3 separate regions of the Homo sapiens genome follow, and regions 1 and 3 are each linked to region 2. Evidence: promoter capture Hi-C in human tissues and cell types (Jung and others, 2019). All regions are on one chromosome and are shown on one strand. Each heading gives the region's core, a stretch centred on a gene start or on the middle of the fragment in contact. The rest is flanking DNA. Distances are from core to core; before and after follow the strand shown.

What was found. Contacts are between HindIII fragments. The study calls those that stand out against the background at their distance.
Region 1: a fragment that was not itself captured here is called in contact with the fragment with the promoter of FYCO1 in region 2 in 1 of the 25 tissues and cell types used here (dorsolateral prefrontal cortex).
Region 3: a fragment that was not itself captured here is called in contact with the fragment with the promoter of FYCO1 in region 2 in 1 of the 25 tissues and cell types used here (bladder).

The regions. Positions count from the first base shown.
Region 1 is chr3:45,691,623-45,696,231 of GRCh38, forward strand. All of the region lies in intron 1 of SACM1L (SAC1 like phosphatidylinositide phosphatase), which reads left to right. Among named protein-coding and RNA genes, the nearest start is that of SACM1L, 4.5 kb to the left of the region's middle. RefSeq lists an enhancer at 2,523-2,662. The HindIII fragment of the contact is 4,754 bases long and covers 183-4,609 here.
Region 2 is chr3:45,994,046-45,998,594 of GRCh38, forward strand. FYCO1 (FYVE and coiled-coil domain autophagy adaptor 1) reads right to left here and starts at 1,779. Exons shown (of 18, transcript NM_024513.4): 1 at 1,677-1,779. LOC105377063 (a long non-coding RNA gene) reads left to right here and starts at 1,858. Exons shown (of 3, transcript XR_940799.3): 1 at 1,858-2,044. RefSeq lists enhancers at 1,578-2,077, 1,578-1,627, 1,648-1,807. The HindIII fragment of the contact is 4,281 bases long and covers 927-4,549 here.
Region 3 is chr3:45,659,633-45,664,207 of GRCh38, forward strand. All of the region lies in intron 2 of LIMD1 (LIM domain containing 1), which reads left to right. Among named protein-coding and RNA genes, the nearest start is that of LIMD1-AS1, 27 kb to the right of the region's middle. The HindIII fragment of the contact is 5,401 bases long and covers 541-4,575 here.

The DNA of each region.
Region 1 (4,609 bases), core at 1,310-3,809, 300 kb before region 2:
TGTCTTTAAAGAGATGGGGTCTCATTCTGTTGCCCAGGCTGGAGTACAGTGGTTTGATCATAGCTCACTGCAGCCTCTAACTCCTAGTCTCAAGCGAGCCTCCCACCTCAGCCTCTCGAGGAGCTAGGACTACAGATGCACACCACCACACCTGTCCTACTTCGGATTTTAAATAATAATTCTGTCTGCATTATGCCATGCTTTTTCTCCAGCCCATCTCTGCCTTGTTGAATTTCACCTTTCTAATGCTCTGGTTTTATCCTCTACTTTCCTGCTTACAATTTCCAGTTCCATCTTACTGACCTATAGGATCAAACTTGCATTTCTTAGCCATCTGTATATTCTAGCCTTTTTATAATCTGTCGCCTAATTTATTTCCCGTAACTGCCCAGAGCCTTTTCCCCACTTCTGCAAAACTTGGCTCATCCCCTTCTAGCTTCAAACTTGGGTGTTATTTTGATCCTTCTACCCAGAATGCCTTCTTCCTCTCTGTTCTCTTTACATACTGGTCACATCCATGGTAGAGCCAAGAGATCTCAGGTTTTGTTAGTCAGAATGGATATGGATTCATATCTTAACTTGACTACTTGTTTTGTGTCCTGGGCATAGTACTTAATCCTTCTGAATTGGTGTTTCAGTCTGTAAAATGGGAATGTTGATACTTCACAGGATTATTGTAAGGTTTGAAAGAGAGTTTTTTTTTTTTTTTATTATTTTTGTGAGACAGGGTCTCACTTGTCACCCAGGCTGGAGTGCAGTGGTGTGAGCTCAGCTCACTGCAGCCTCAGCCTCCCAGGCTCAAGTGATCCTCTCACCTCAGCCCCCAAAGCATCTGGGACTACAGGTGCACATCACCATGTCTGGCTGATTTTTTCTGTTTTTCAGTTTCGCCATGTTGCTGAAACTTGAACTCCTCGTCTTAAGTGATCCATGCACCCTGGCCTCCCAAAGTGCTGGAATTACTGGCATGAGCCACCATGCCTGGCCCAAAGAGAGTTTAGATGAAGTACTTAGTGTACCTCATAGGTACCTTCTTTGAGAAATGTTTTCTTTCCATGTCTTTTCCTTCACTGAGTTCTGGTAACAGTTTTTAAAGCCAAAAATGAAAAATTATTGTAACAGGGTTAGACACCAAATGTTTACATGATTTATGTATTCTGTCTCTTAGGATCAGTTTACAGTGCATTTACTTTCTCATGGACAAGAGGATGGAAAGCTAGAATGGTCAATCCATAGTACTGTTTGAACCACTCATTTTGTCACTTAGAAATGAAATCATTATGTACACCGTTATGTGACTCTTACTGACAGAGATACATTCTGAGAAATATGTTAGAAATATGTTAGGCAACTTCTTTGTACAAACATCAGAGTATAATTACACAAACCTAGATGGTACAGCCTACTACACACCTAGGCTATATGGAATAGCCAGTTGTTCCTAGGCTACAAACCTGTACAGCAGGTTACTGTACTGAATACTGTAGGCAGTTGCAACACAATGGTAAAGATTTGTGTATGTATACATACATAAACAAGAAAAGGTACAGTAAATATACGGTATTATAAGCTTATAGGACCACCATCATATGTGTAGTCTGTCGTTGACCAAAGCATTGTTACATGGCACATGGCTGTACTTTGTTTCTCCAACCAGTTTACACCTTAACATTTTCTTCTCTAGTCCTCCTCAGTACCTAACATAGAGCCTTGTGCAGAGCAGCTCCTCAGTGAATCAACTGAGTAAATGAAAGGAACTTTCCAGTATAGACCACGTACTAGCACTGCAAAAAGAACACAGTCTAGGGTAATTTGGAATGTATCGTTTTGAAGAAACACAGCTTAAAAGTCATTTCATGTATATTGTCTTCCCAGTGTCTCTGTGAGGTCATAGGTTGATAGGTATCCTGTCATTGTTGAAAACAGTCTCATAATTGCCCTTGGCCACAAAGTCAGATCATACAGCCAAGCCATGGTAGAGCTAGCCTTGGAATACGGCTGGTCCAGAGTCCAGTGATCTTTCCATTTCATTGCATTATCCATATGACCTTTTTTTCTCTTACCAGATTGCTCTCGCATTAGTCCTCAGACATGCCAGGTATTGAAATGAGTCACTTACAACCAAATATAGTTGACATGTCCATATTAATTTCCATATGTTTAATGTGGAAAACAGAATATTGATTTGCTCAGAATTTAAAATTCATACTTTTTAAACTTCCAGGCAGTTCTAAATATCCTGTTAGGCTCCATTTTTCTTTTTAAGCCATTTGTATAGGCATGGATAATGTCAGACAGTGATAAATTTGAAATTGCAAAATAATTAGACTGGAAATGTAATTTTTAAGAAGCTTATCTATCCCTGTATATAAGCTAAAATACCTTGGCAGTTCGGCGTAGGTGTCACATTTCCTTTGCAGGGAAATGACATCAAATGTGGTTTGGGCACTTCTTAGGCCCCTCAGACCTCAAGCTCATAATAACTTTCTAAAAGGTTCAGTGGAAAGTTAGAGGTGCAAAATTATTGGATACATTTAAAGCATTTTTTCTTCTTTTTTTTTCTTTTTCTTTTAAAAGGTCAGTTGAAACTAGGTGTAAGGCAGGGAATCCTTTAGTTACTGCATCAGGCTGCAGCATGCCTCTGAAGAGTACTGTTTCCTCAGGAAATTGCCATTTTTAAAAGAGTCTCATAACTGTGAGGTCATCAGTCAGGGCAGATATGATCCAACCTTGAAAACAGATGTAACCTAAGCTACCTTGTGATACAGACACATATAATCTGTTCAATATAATGAACATTCATATTATTCACAGAAGTCTCCCGGTGGAGGGAAGGGTGTAGGGCAGCTCAGATTATTCTCATGAGTTTTAGCACAGACAATATGGGGTTTGTATCCAAAGCATTAGTTGGCTGGGAGTTCAGGCTAGTTCAGGCTTACCTAGGCTCACGTGGCTAGCCTAGGTTAGTGCTAGGCTACATCAAATGACTTGGTATGCTTGTTTTAAGTGCGTATTCCAGGGCCCCACATTAGGCCTACTGAGTGAAAATCTCTGGGGATGAGCGGTGGAAATCTGCAAGTTTAACTAGCTATCCTGGTAGTTTTTATGCACTCTGAAATATTTTAGGGCTGGGCATACATAGCTGAGTTAGGACCAGAACATGCTGGTAGAAGAGAATTCTTTGGAAGATATGGGGCTCTGGTAGATTGTGCTGTGGATTAGAGCTTCAGATTAGGTGGAATTTGGACCTAGTCCTGTGAAGAAGTCTGGTTGAGAGAATGGGTTTTAGGGCATTCAGGGAATAGGATATAGGTGGGAACACAGAGTTTTGAGAAAGAGGATAGCATTAGAATGAGTCTTTCTAGAAACACCAACTGGTTTGGAATTGGGTTGTGCCCCTGGGGAGTCTGTGATGAACTTGAGCTATAGGAGAGGCAACCAGGGAGGGCTCAGTGAGGAGATACCCAAAGGGAGGATGAATGGGGGAGGTAGGAGCACCTTCTGCCTATGAGTGTAGTATGTGCAGGGGATCCTTCTTTACTAAGTTGTTTTCTTTTTGCTCACCAAACCTAGTAAAGTGTTGTGCCTCTGTCTTTTCAACCAGAGATGTATTAAATTTGATCATTAAGACCTTGATTTAATTCTTTTTTTTTTTTGAGATGGGGTCTCACTCTGTTGCCCAGGCTGGAGTGCAGTGGCGCAGTCTCGGCTCACCACAACCACCACCTCCCAGGTTCAAGTGATTCTTGTGCCTCAGCCTCCCTTGTAGCTGGGACTACAGGCATGCACCACCAGGCCCGGCTAATTTTTGTATTGTTAGTAGAGACAGAGTTTCACCATGTTGGCCAGGCTGGTCTTGATCTCCTGACCTCAAGTGATCCACCTGCCTCGGCCTCCCAAAGTGTTGGGATTACAGGCATGAGCCACTGCACCCAGCCAAATTCTTTACGTAAGATTTTTGAGGGAATATGTTCTTGCTACAGTTTTATGACATATCACTGTGGCTCCTATGCAAAATAGTGGTTTCATTATTTTTAAAAATTGTGGTAAAATAAAACATTAAATTTACCATCTCAACCATTTTTAAGTATACAGTTCAGGGGCAATAAGCACATTCATGTTGTACAACCGTTATCACCATCCATCACCAGAACCGTTTTCATCTTGCAAAAATAAACTCTGTACCCATTAAACAACTCCCCATTTCTGTATCCTCCCAGCCCCTGGCAACCACCGTTCTACTTTCTGTCTCTATAAATTTGACTTCTCTAGATGCCTCATGAAGTGGCAGTATTTGTCCTTTTATGACTGGTTTATTTCACTTAGCATAATGTCCTTAAGGTTCATCCATTGTGTAGCATGTGTCAGAATTTCCTTTTTTTTTTTTTTTTTTGAGATGGAGTCTCGCTCTGTTGCCTATGCTGGAGTACAGTGGTGCGATCTCGGCCCACTGCAACCTCTGCCTCCTGGGTTCAAGCAATTCTCCTGCCTTAGCCTCCTAAGTAGCTGGGATTTCAGGTGCCTGCCACCACGCCCAGCTACTGTTTTGTATTTTTAGTAGAGACAAGGTTTCACTGCATTTGCCAGGATGGTCTCCATCTCCTGACCT
Region 2 (4,549 bases), core at 529-3,028:
TCCTCTCATCACAAACATCTATGGGGGCCATCCCCCTCAAAAAGGACCAGGTTAAAAACTTGGCTCCTGAAATTATACTGGTGCTCCAAACCCAGCCCCAAGGGGCAAAGGTCATCGGAACAACAGCTAAAGGATCACTGCCTGAGACTGTTACCAATCTCTAAAGTAACTGCAAAAAAAAAAAAAAATCAAAGTAAAATATTAAGAATTGAGTATACGGATATTCACCATACAATCCTTTCAGTGATTCTGTATGTTTATTTTTCTAATAAAATATTAAAAACAATTTAAAAAGTAAATGAAGTGCTACACAAAGATAGTCACTTTGAACATAAACAGATAAACTCTATTTCCTAAAGCAAGAGCCTTTAGGAGAGATCCTATTAATCAAAGGAGGCTGAGATCCATCACTGTGACAATTAGCTCTTATTTTCAGGGTGATAATAACCACGGTGCACAACTAGTATGGGGCATTCAATGCTTTCAGAACAGTGGTTGTCACAGAAGGGAGGGTCAAGTGGAGCTCACTCAACAGGGGTCCACTTCAGAAGGTGGGAACTACTGAAAGCAGAAAACCTTGGCATGATAGCTCCAGCTCCCCACCCCTCCCCCACACCAGCCCCCAACACCCTCCAGCCGCATTAGGCAGATGGCAGGGGAATTAAGCTTGCAGCCTGAGACCACAAGGCCTGCACGGGCAGGAGAACCAGTGAGCAGATTAAGCCCTGGATCCTCTGCCCCGCAAAAGCCCCTGACCCATTTCTCTGTCGGGAAAGGAAACTGCTGTGGTAAGACAAGCAGAGGGGCTGAGAGGCTCTGGCCAACACAGGCAGTTTCAACAAGTGTTCTATTTTTTTTTCTGGAGAGGACACCCAATGGGAACAGTGAAGAGTGACAGGGACATCAGAGAATACATGTGCTTTAACAGGGGGCCACGCGGTTAACGTGTCAACCACATGTGCTTTTCTTACAAAAAATAAAATCCCGCCATCCTCCCCCCTCCCCGCCCCACCCCCGCCAGGTTTCAACAGCACGGACTCCAGTCCAGTGCAGTGCCGCCACACCAGAGACAACAGGTGTTTCGGGAAAAGACCCCTGGGGGCTAGCTCGAGACCCTGCGCATGGGCACAAGGGGCAGTGGATAGTGAATAGGTCTTGGCCAAAGGATGGGCCAGGAAGAAAGAAGCTTCTTCCCCTCCTGGGAAGAGGGCAGAGATCCGAGCACCAGCGGAGTCTTGCAAAGTGAAGGTCTGGGCTGTCCCGGCCCAACTGGGCCAGAGACTAAACTTCCTAAAGACCACGCAGGCAGGAACTCCGGGGCCTGCCCCATCCTGCGCTAAGACATTCAGGCTTGTTCTGAGACGCCGCATGGTGGGCTCCTTTCCTTTGCGGGCCCTCCGCCCTCCGGGGTCTTGGAACTGGTGTTTGGGGTCTGTCTTTCTAACCGACCAACAGAGGCAGGCTGGGTGCCTGGGCCGGCTTCCACCTGCCCGAGGTGCTTCCCGGCCCGCTGGGCAAGGACGGGGGCGCTCGGGCAGGGTCTGAGGGAGACCTGGGATGGGCGGGGACTGTAAGGGCAACAGGTGACAAGCCGCGCCCCGAGCGAAGCTCTCGCCTCAGGGATCGTGAGCGACCCAGGTGCCCCCAGAGTCCAGCCGGTCTTCCGCGGCACTTACGCGCTCGTGGGTCCACCGCCGGGCAGAACCGAAACTTTCTGGGGCCAAGCGGAAGAGGACGGGAACGCGGTGCTGACGGCCATGACGCGCACACCAAGAGGGTGGCGGGGGCGGACTACAACTCCCGGCGTGCTCCCCGGGGCTGAGGCCTGCAACTCCCATCGGACTCCCGGGGCTCCGACTACAACTCCCGGCGACTCCGCAGGGCGGGGTTTAAGTGCTCCCACCGCCCAGTCCCCGGACCGACTGTCCCACCCGCGACCCATGCTGGCCCCAGGTTAACGCCTGCAACCCCGGAGGGCCACAAATCAAAGGTCTGGCATCTTGACAACAACGCTGTTCTTGTGTGGCTAAGGAGCACTCCAAAGGTAGCTAGTTCGAGTTGAATCGTGCACGTGCTGTAAGTGTGAAATACACCTAGGTACCAAAGAGTCCGAAGAATGTTAACTAGCTCATTAATTTTTAGTGATTGCATGTTAAAATGATAATATTTTGATATATTGGGAAATAGAAAAACATGTATTGGTGGGCCTAATTTCCCATCTTTTAATCCCCCTTATTTCTTAATATCAGGGTCTTACTTAAAATTAGTGCTCAAAAACTACGTGTTTATGAACTACCACCCCTAACTTTGGCCCCATCCTCAGCCCAACTTCTATTTATAAGATGGGTGTTGCAAAGCACTGTGGAACTGAATACGATAGAACAAAATGCATTCAATCAGTGTCCGCTATGGGCACAGTAGAAAAGAGGAACACTACACGGGGACTTTGGCTTCTAACTGACTGCATTCCTTAGCTGTGGCTGGCTATCCTTTACTCTCTGCCCTAGTTCTCATCATTTAAGCCAGAAACAGCTCTCTCCCTTGTAGGACCTAGCTCGTGGTATCCAGTCAGGAACCGTGGTGGCCCAACATTCTAAACTGAGGAAGCAGGGTGTTGTCTGGGTACAATAATACAGAAAGAAAATCAATTTCTTAGTCGATTTTAGGCTATGACATCTCATTAGCCATCTAATTTTATAAATTAGATGTAGCTAAAACAGTGAGTTGGATGGATGGAGTAGTCAGTTTGGGGGTGGGGTTGGGAGGAGGTACATGAATAGAAGTGATTTCCACTCTTGTTAACAGAAAGGAGAACAGAAAGAAAACGGGGGGAGTGAGAAGATGACAAAGAGAAAAGTAATCAATGTAGTGGTCTAAGAGAAATCATTGCTCCAACCACTGTCTGAACAGCTTCATGCAATATTAAGGATGAGAGAGATTTTAATGTTGGTCATCTGGTCCAATATCCTTGTTTGAAACTGTGTGGGGAAAAAAAAACCTCCCTCAAACCGTATTTTTCCTCTACTCTTACACAACAGCAATCATCAACACAGGAGAATAATTTGGTGACCAGATGTGTGTGGGGTTTTCCCCACACACTGAGCAGTGGACCGCACCTGGGTGTCCTCCAATTCAATTCCGACACTATCTACCTGGAGTATCAGATCCCACAAGTGGAGGGCTCAGTCCCCAAGACTGCCTCCTCACCTTTAAACACCAGTTGTAAGTCTAGGCCTCCAGAATTTTGGAATGACTGGCTTCAAGTTGAGTTCCCACGACACCCTCTTTGGGTTCAGCTAATTTGCTAAAGTGGTTCATAGAACTCAGAGAAACACATTTACTGGTCTATTATAAAGGATACTGCAATGGATGCAGATAAAGAGACACGTAGGATGAGGTGTGGAGGAAGGGGCGTGGGGCTTCCATGCCTTCCCTGGATGCACCACTCTTCAGTAACCTCCACGTGTTCAGCTATCCCGAAGCTCCCCGAATCCAGTCCTCTTGGGCTTTTATGGAAGCTTCGTGATGTCAGCATTGCTTCCCCCAGGGTATAGGGGAGGACCCTCTCTTGGGAGGGTCTTAAGACCTATAATCAGAAAGGCGGGGGAAGCGGCTGGGCACGGTGGCTCACGCCTGTAATCCCAGCTCACGCCTTGGGAGGCCGAGGTGGGCGGATCACCTGAGGTCGGGAGTTTGAGACCAGCCTGACCAACATGGAGAAACCCCATCTCTATTAAAAATACAAAATTAGCCGGGCGTGGTGGCACATGCCTATAATCCCAGCTTCTAGGGAGGCTGAGGCAGGAGAATCGCTTGAACCCGGGAGGCGGAGGTTGCGGTGAGCCAAGATCGAGCCATTGCACTCCAGCCTGGGCAACAAGAGCAAAACTCCATCTTAAAGAAAAAAAAAAAGAAAGAAAGGCGGGGGAAGATTAGAGTCCTGCCTTAAAGCAGGTGAAAGGAGGGCAGAAGGCCAGAGAGATTCGGTTTCCTGAAGCCTAACATACCTAACATAACAAAAGACTGTAACAAGGGCTATGGGAGTTATGAGCCAGGAACCATGGAAGAAAACCAAGATAGATAGATAGATAGATAGATAGATAGATAGATAGATAGATAGATAGACAGACAGATAGACAGACATCATAATACCACAGAAACTTAAACCCAAAAGGAGTTTGAAAAGAAAAGGAAAACAAACCTAATATTTATTGAGGACCTATATGCCAGTCCCTAGCCCCCCAGCAAAAAAACAAAAAACAACAACAAAAACCCATTCAGCATTATATTTAAAACTTGCAGCCACTTGGTGACATAATTAGTATTCATTATCATACTTTGAAGATGAGGAGATGAAGCTCAGAGAGGTTAAATGACTGTCCTGGTCCACCCACCTAATAAGTGGTGGAGAGTGGTGGAGGCTGGGGTAGAGCTGGGGGCTCCTGAGGGGTCTTCTGTCACCCAGCACACTGTCAGATACAGGGAAGGTTAACAAAATCACTACTGTTCAGGTAGTTTAACTTGGATTTCCTTTATAGATACAGCAGAG
Region 3 (4,575 bases), core at 1,991-4,490, 330 kb before region 2:
TATAAGCATTTTCCAATATGACTAAAACACTATTTAAATGACATTTTAAATAGCTATGTAACATTTCATCATTTATATGTACTCTGGTTTATATAACCATTCCTCTAAGGCTGCCAGTTTGGATCTAAGTAAATATTTATTCACTTTTTAAAATTCTTTCCCAAAGCTAAGTCTCAGATAACCTCACTGAGTCAGAGATAAACATTTTAAAGTTTCCCTTCCAGGGAGAGTTTATCATCTTACACTCTCAGCAGTAGCTTATGAAAATATACAGTGACAACAATCACAAACACTTAAAAAATCTTTGTTGATCTCCTGGATGAAAAAGCTTTCGTTTAATTTGTTTCTTAACACTAGAGGGTTCAGTGCTTCTGCATGTTCAATGATCTTCCTCTGTGATTTTTGGAATAGAGGTGATCTTCGCCCTATTACACAAAACGTTGATTTCCAGCTCAGATTCCTTAGAACTTGCTAACCCCATTCCTGGAACCAAAGTGCTGTTTGCTGTGTTCTCCATACATTGGATCAGAAGCCTAAGCTCTGGAAGTCCTGCGCCGTTTCCTGGTGGCCTCCTAGCTCCCTCTAGGGGCCCCATCCGCAACTGCAGCCCCACCTTCTTTCCTCTCTTGAGGAATGAGTTTACCCTGCGGGAATTCCGAGAAGGAAGAGGCGAAAGTGGGGAGCTCCACAAGTAAAGATTTGGACTTTGTGATCAGACAGTGTGTGAATAGTTTTGCTTACTGGTTGAGCAAGCTTCTCTTAGGTGGGCTGTCTTTTTTTTTTTTTTTTTTTTTTTTTCCCGAGACGGAGTCTCTCTCTGTCATAAAGGCTAGAGTGCAATGGCGCGATCTTAGCTTCCTGCAGCCTCCGCCTCCCAGGTTCAAGCGATTCTCCTACCGCGGCCTCCCAAGTAGCTAGGATTATAGGCGCGTGCCACCATGCCAAGCTAATTTTTGTATTTTTAGTGGAGATGAGGTTTCGCCATGTTGGCCAGGCTGGTCTCGAACTCGTGATCTCAAGTGGTCCAACAGCCTCAGCCTCCCAGAGTGCTGGGATCACAGGCGTGAGCCACCGCGCCCGGCCAGGTGGGCTGTTTGTGTTCCTCGTCACCTTGTTCCTGGGGAGGGACAGAGGGCAGCAGATCAGCTGTCACCCAGGTAGGTGTCCGACGTGGGAAAAGTATGGGAAAGATACTCTAGTTAGTTCTCATTTTCTTTTCTAAAACTTCGAGTTCTCTGGAGTCCCTTTATAGAGAGAAAGTTTAAGTAACTGAAATTAATTTCCATGGCTGTCAAGGGGGTTCTGATGATGATCCCTGAGATCACCCAGCTGTAGGTAGACATTCTTGGTACCTTAGTTTAGCAGAGTCAGAAAATACTGCGAACGTTCAAGGATGGGGACCTTCTAGAAGAGAGGGCAACAGTAACTTTGAGGGGAGGACAAGAGAGCAGCTTTGGAGACCTAAAGAGTTGTGGCCTTCTATGTAAGTCCTATTATCCCTTCCATGCACCCCCACCCACATTCCCCTACTCCATTAAACTTTGTTTCAGGTTATAAAAATAATGCATAATTATTGCAGGAAAAAATGGTAATTGAAAATCACCTATTTCTTACACTCAAAGATAATGACTTAAAATTTGGTGTACATCTTATGTGTATGAGTGTACACATAATTTTGTCATCATATATGTGAGTGTGTTCATAACTGTAACCCACATACTTATATACTTCCTTTAAAATATTTTAAGTATTTTTCCCTGTCAATAAATATTTTTTTGAAAACACAATCTTTTTATGGCTGCATAATATTCCAACATGTATATGGGTTATCATTTAATAGGAATTGGACATTTGATGCTCATTTTTAGCAAGCTATTATAAATCTGAGATGACGATTTCTGGAACTAGGATAAATTCCTGAAATAGAATTTTTGGGGAGAAAATATCTGAACTTTGTAAATTCTACTGACATTTAATACAAATTTCTCTCCTAAGAGCTTGTTTTAGCTTCTGCTATCCCTTGCAGAGTGTGAACAAGTATCTGTTTGTCTGTGTCATTACTAACACTGGGGTTATCATTCTTTTTAAGCTTTGCTAGTCTGATAGGTAAAGCATAGGGTTTTTTGTTGTTGTTTGTTTTTGGAGAGACAGAGTCTCACTCTATTGCCCAGGCTGGCGTGCACAGACGTGATCTCAGCTCACTGCAGTCTCAACCTCTAGGCACAAGTGATCCTCCTAGCTCAGCCTCCTAAGTAGCTGGGACTACAGGCGTGCCCCACTACACCTAGCTAACTTTTTTATTATTTGTAGAGATGGGATCTTGCTGTGTTGCCTAGGCTGGTCTTGAGCTCCTGGGTTCAAGTGATCCTCCCACCTTGGCCTCCCAAAGTGTTGGAATTACAGGTGTGAGCCACTGTGCCTGGCAGCAATATTTTTTAAATCATGAGGAAAGCTAAAGATTTTATTTTATAGTTATTGATCATTCATACTTATTTTGTGGTTTGTCTGCCTATTCTTTACCCATTTTTTATATAGGACTGTTACTTGAGTTATTTTCATATTAGAGTTACATCCTTTTCTGTCATACAGTATAGATGTTTGCTCTAGTTTGTTATTGCCTTTTCGTTTACGGTGTTTCACCTAAGTGTGTGTGTGTGTGTGTGTGTGTGCGCGTGTAAAACCTACTGGAAGGTACTATGGGAAATAATCCTTATTTACCTGTCACCCAGAATGCACAGACATTTTTACATTATAGTTTTGGTTTGATATTTTTTATAAAGGAAATTAAATATATAAAAATTGTGTGTGTATTTTAAAACCTACTGGAAAGTACTATAGGAAATAATCCTTATTTACCTATCACCCAGAATGCACAGACATTTTTACATTGTAGCTTTGATTCTGTATTTTTATAAAGGAAATAAAATATTATATAAAAATTGGAATCATCTTGATTCCTTTTCCCATCCTCTCCCTTCCTTCCCTAGGGCAGCTGCCATTATGAATTGAAATTTTCCTACTGTTACCATATATACTATTGTCAATAAAAAACATACAGTACTAGTTTACAGTACTAGTTTGTGGCCGGGCATGGTGGCTCACACCTGTAATCCCAGCACTTTGGGAGGCCGAGGTGGGTGGATCACCTGAGGTCAGGAGTTCGAGACCAGCCTGGCCACCATCTCTACTAAAAATACAAAAATTAGCCGGGTATGGTGGTGAGTGCCTGTAATCCCAGTTGCTTGGGAGGCTGAGGCAGGAGAATCACTTGAACCTGGGAGGCAGAGGCTGCAGTGAACCAAGATCGTGCCACTGCACTCCAGCCTGGGCGACACAGCGAGACTCCGTCTCAAAAAAAAAAAACAAAACAGTACTAGTTTGTGTATGTGTGTGTGCGCACTCTCAAACTTACACATATACGATCATTGGTATATCTTCAGGCATTTTGCCTTATTTGCACTGGTGTTCAGTTCAATTAATAATGATATGCATAGATCTAGCCCTTTCATTTTGACTGCTGTCTGGTATTACATCCAGTAAATACAGCTCCAGTTTCTTCGTCTATTTATCAATTCTCATATCTAGTGAACACTGAAGACGCTTCTAGTTTTTCCATAACAACGTTGCCGTGAACATCCATACATGTCTGTCCTCATGCATGTTTGGGTAATCTTCTCAAGGGGCAACCTTAGAAGTGTGTTGTGGATTATGTGTATTTTCAGATCTATTGGCCCTTGACAAATTGTTCCCAAGTAGTCATCCCAGTTGATGATACTCCCACCAGTGTGAAAGGGCTCCTCTTGTCCCACACCTTCCAAGACATGCTATTAGATTTAGTAATTTTTGCCAATCTATGAAAGTGAGATAGAATCTCATTGTGGTTTTAGTTTGCATTATCCTGATTGTTGATAGGATAGAACATCTTTTTATTATAGATATTGGGGTTATGATTAATAATCCTGGTTATTCCTAAGGTATAACAGGTTTTCTATTCTATGCACTTTCTCTTCCTGCCCTTTGCTCATTTCCCCATTGGATTATTTATCTTTTTCTTATTAATTGGTGTTCTTTGTGTCTTAGGTACTAATACTATTTTAATTTATTTTATTTATTTATTTTTGAGACAGAGTCTTGCTCTGTTGCCCAGTCTTGACTCACTGCAATCTCCACCTCCTGGGTTCAAGTGATTCTTCTGCCTCAGACTCCCAAGTAGTGCGTGGCACCATGCCTGGCTAATTTTTTTTTTTTTTTTTTTTGAGACAGAGTCTCCCTCTGTCACCCAGGCTGGAGTGCAGTGGCATGATCTCGGCTCACTGCAACCTCCGCCTCCTAGGTGCAGGCGATTCTCCTGCCTCAGTCTCCCAAGTAGCTGGGGTTACAGGTGCATGCCACCATGCCCAGCTCTTTTTTGTATTTTTAGTAGAGATGGGGTTTCACCATATTGGCCAGGCTGATCTCGAACTCCTGACCTCAGGTGATCCACCTGCCTCAGCCTCCCAAAGTGCTGGCACTACAGGCTTGAGCCACTGTGCCCGGCCAATTTTTGTACCTTTTGTAGAGACAAAGTTTCACCAT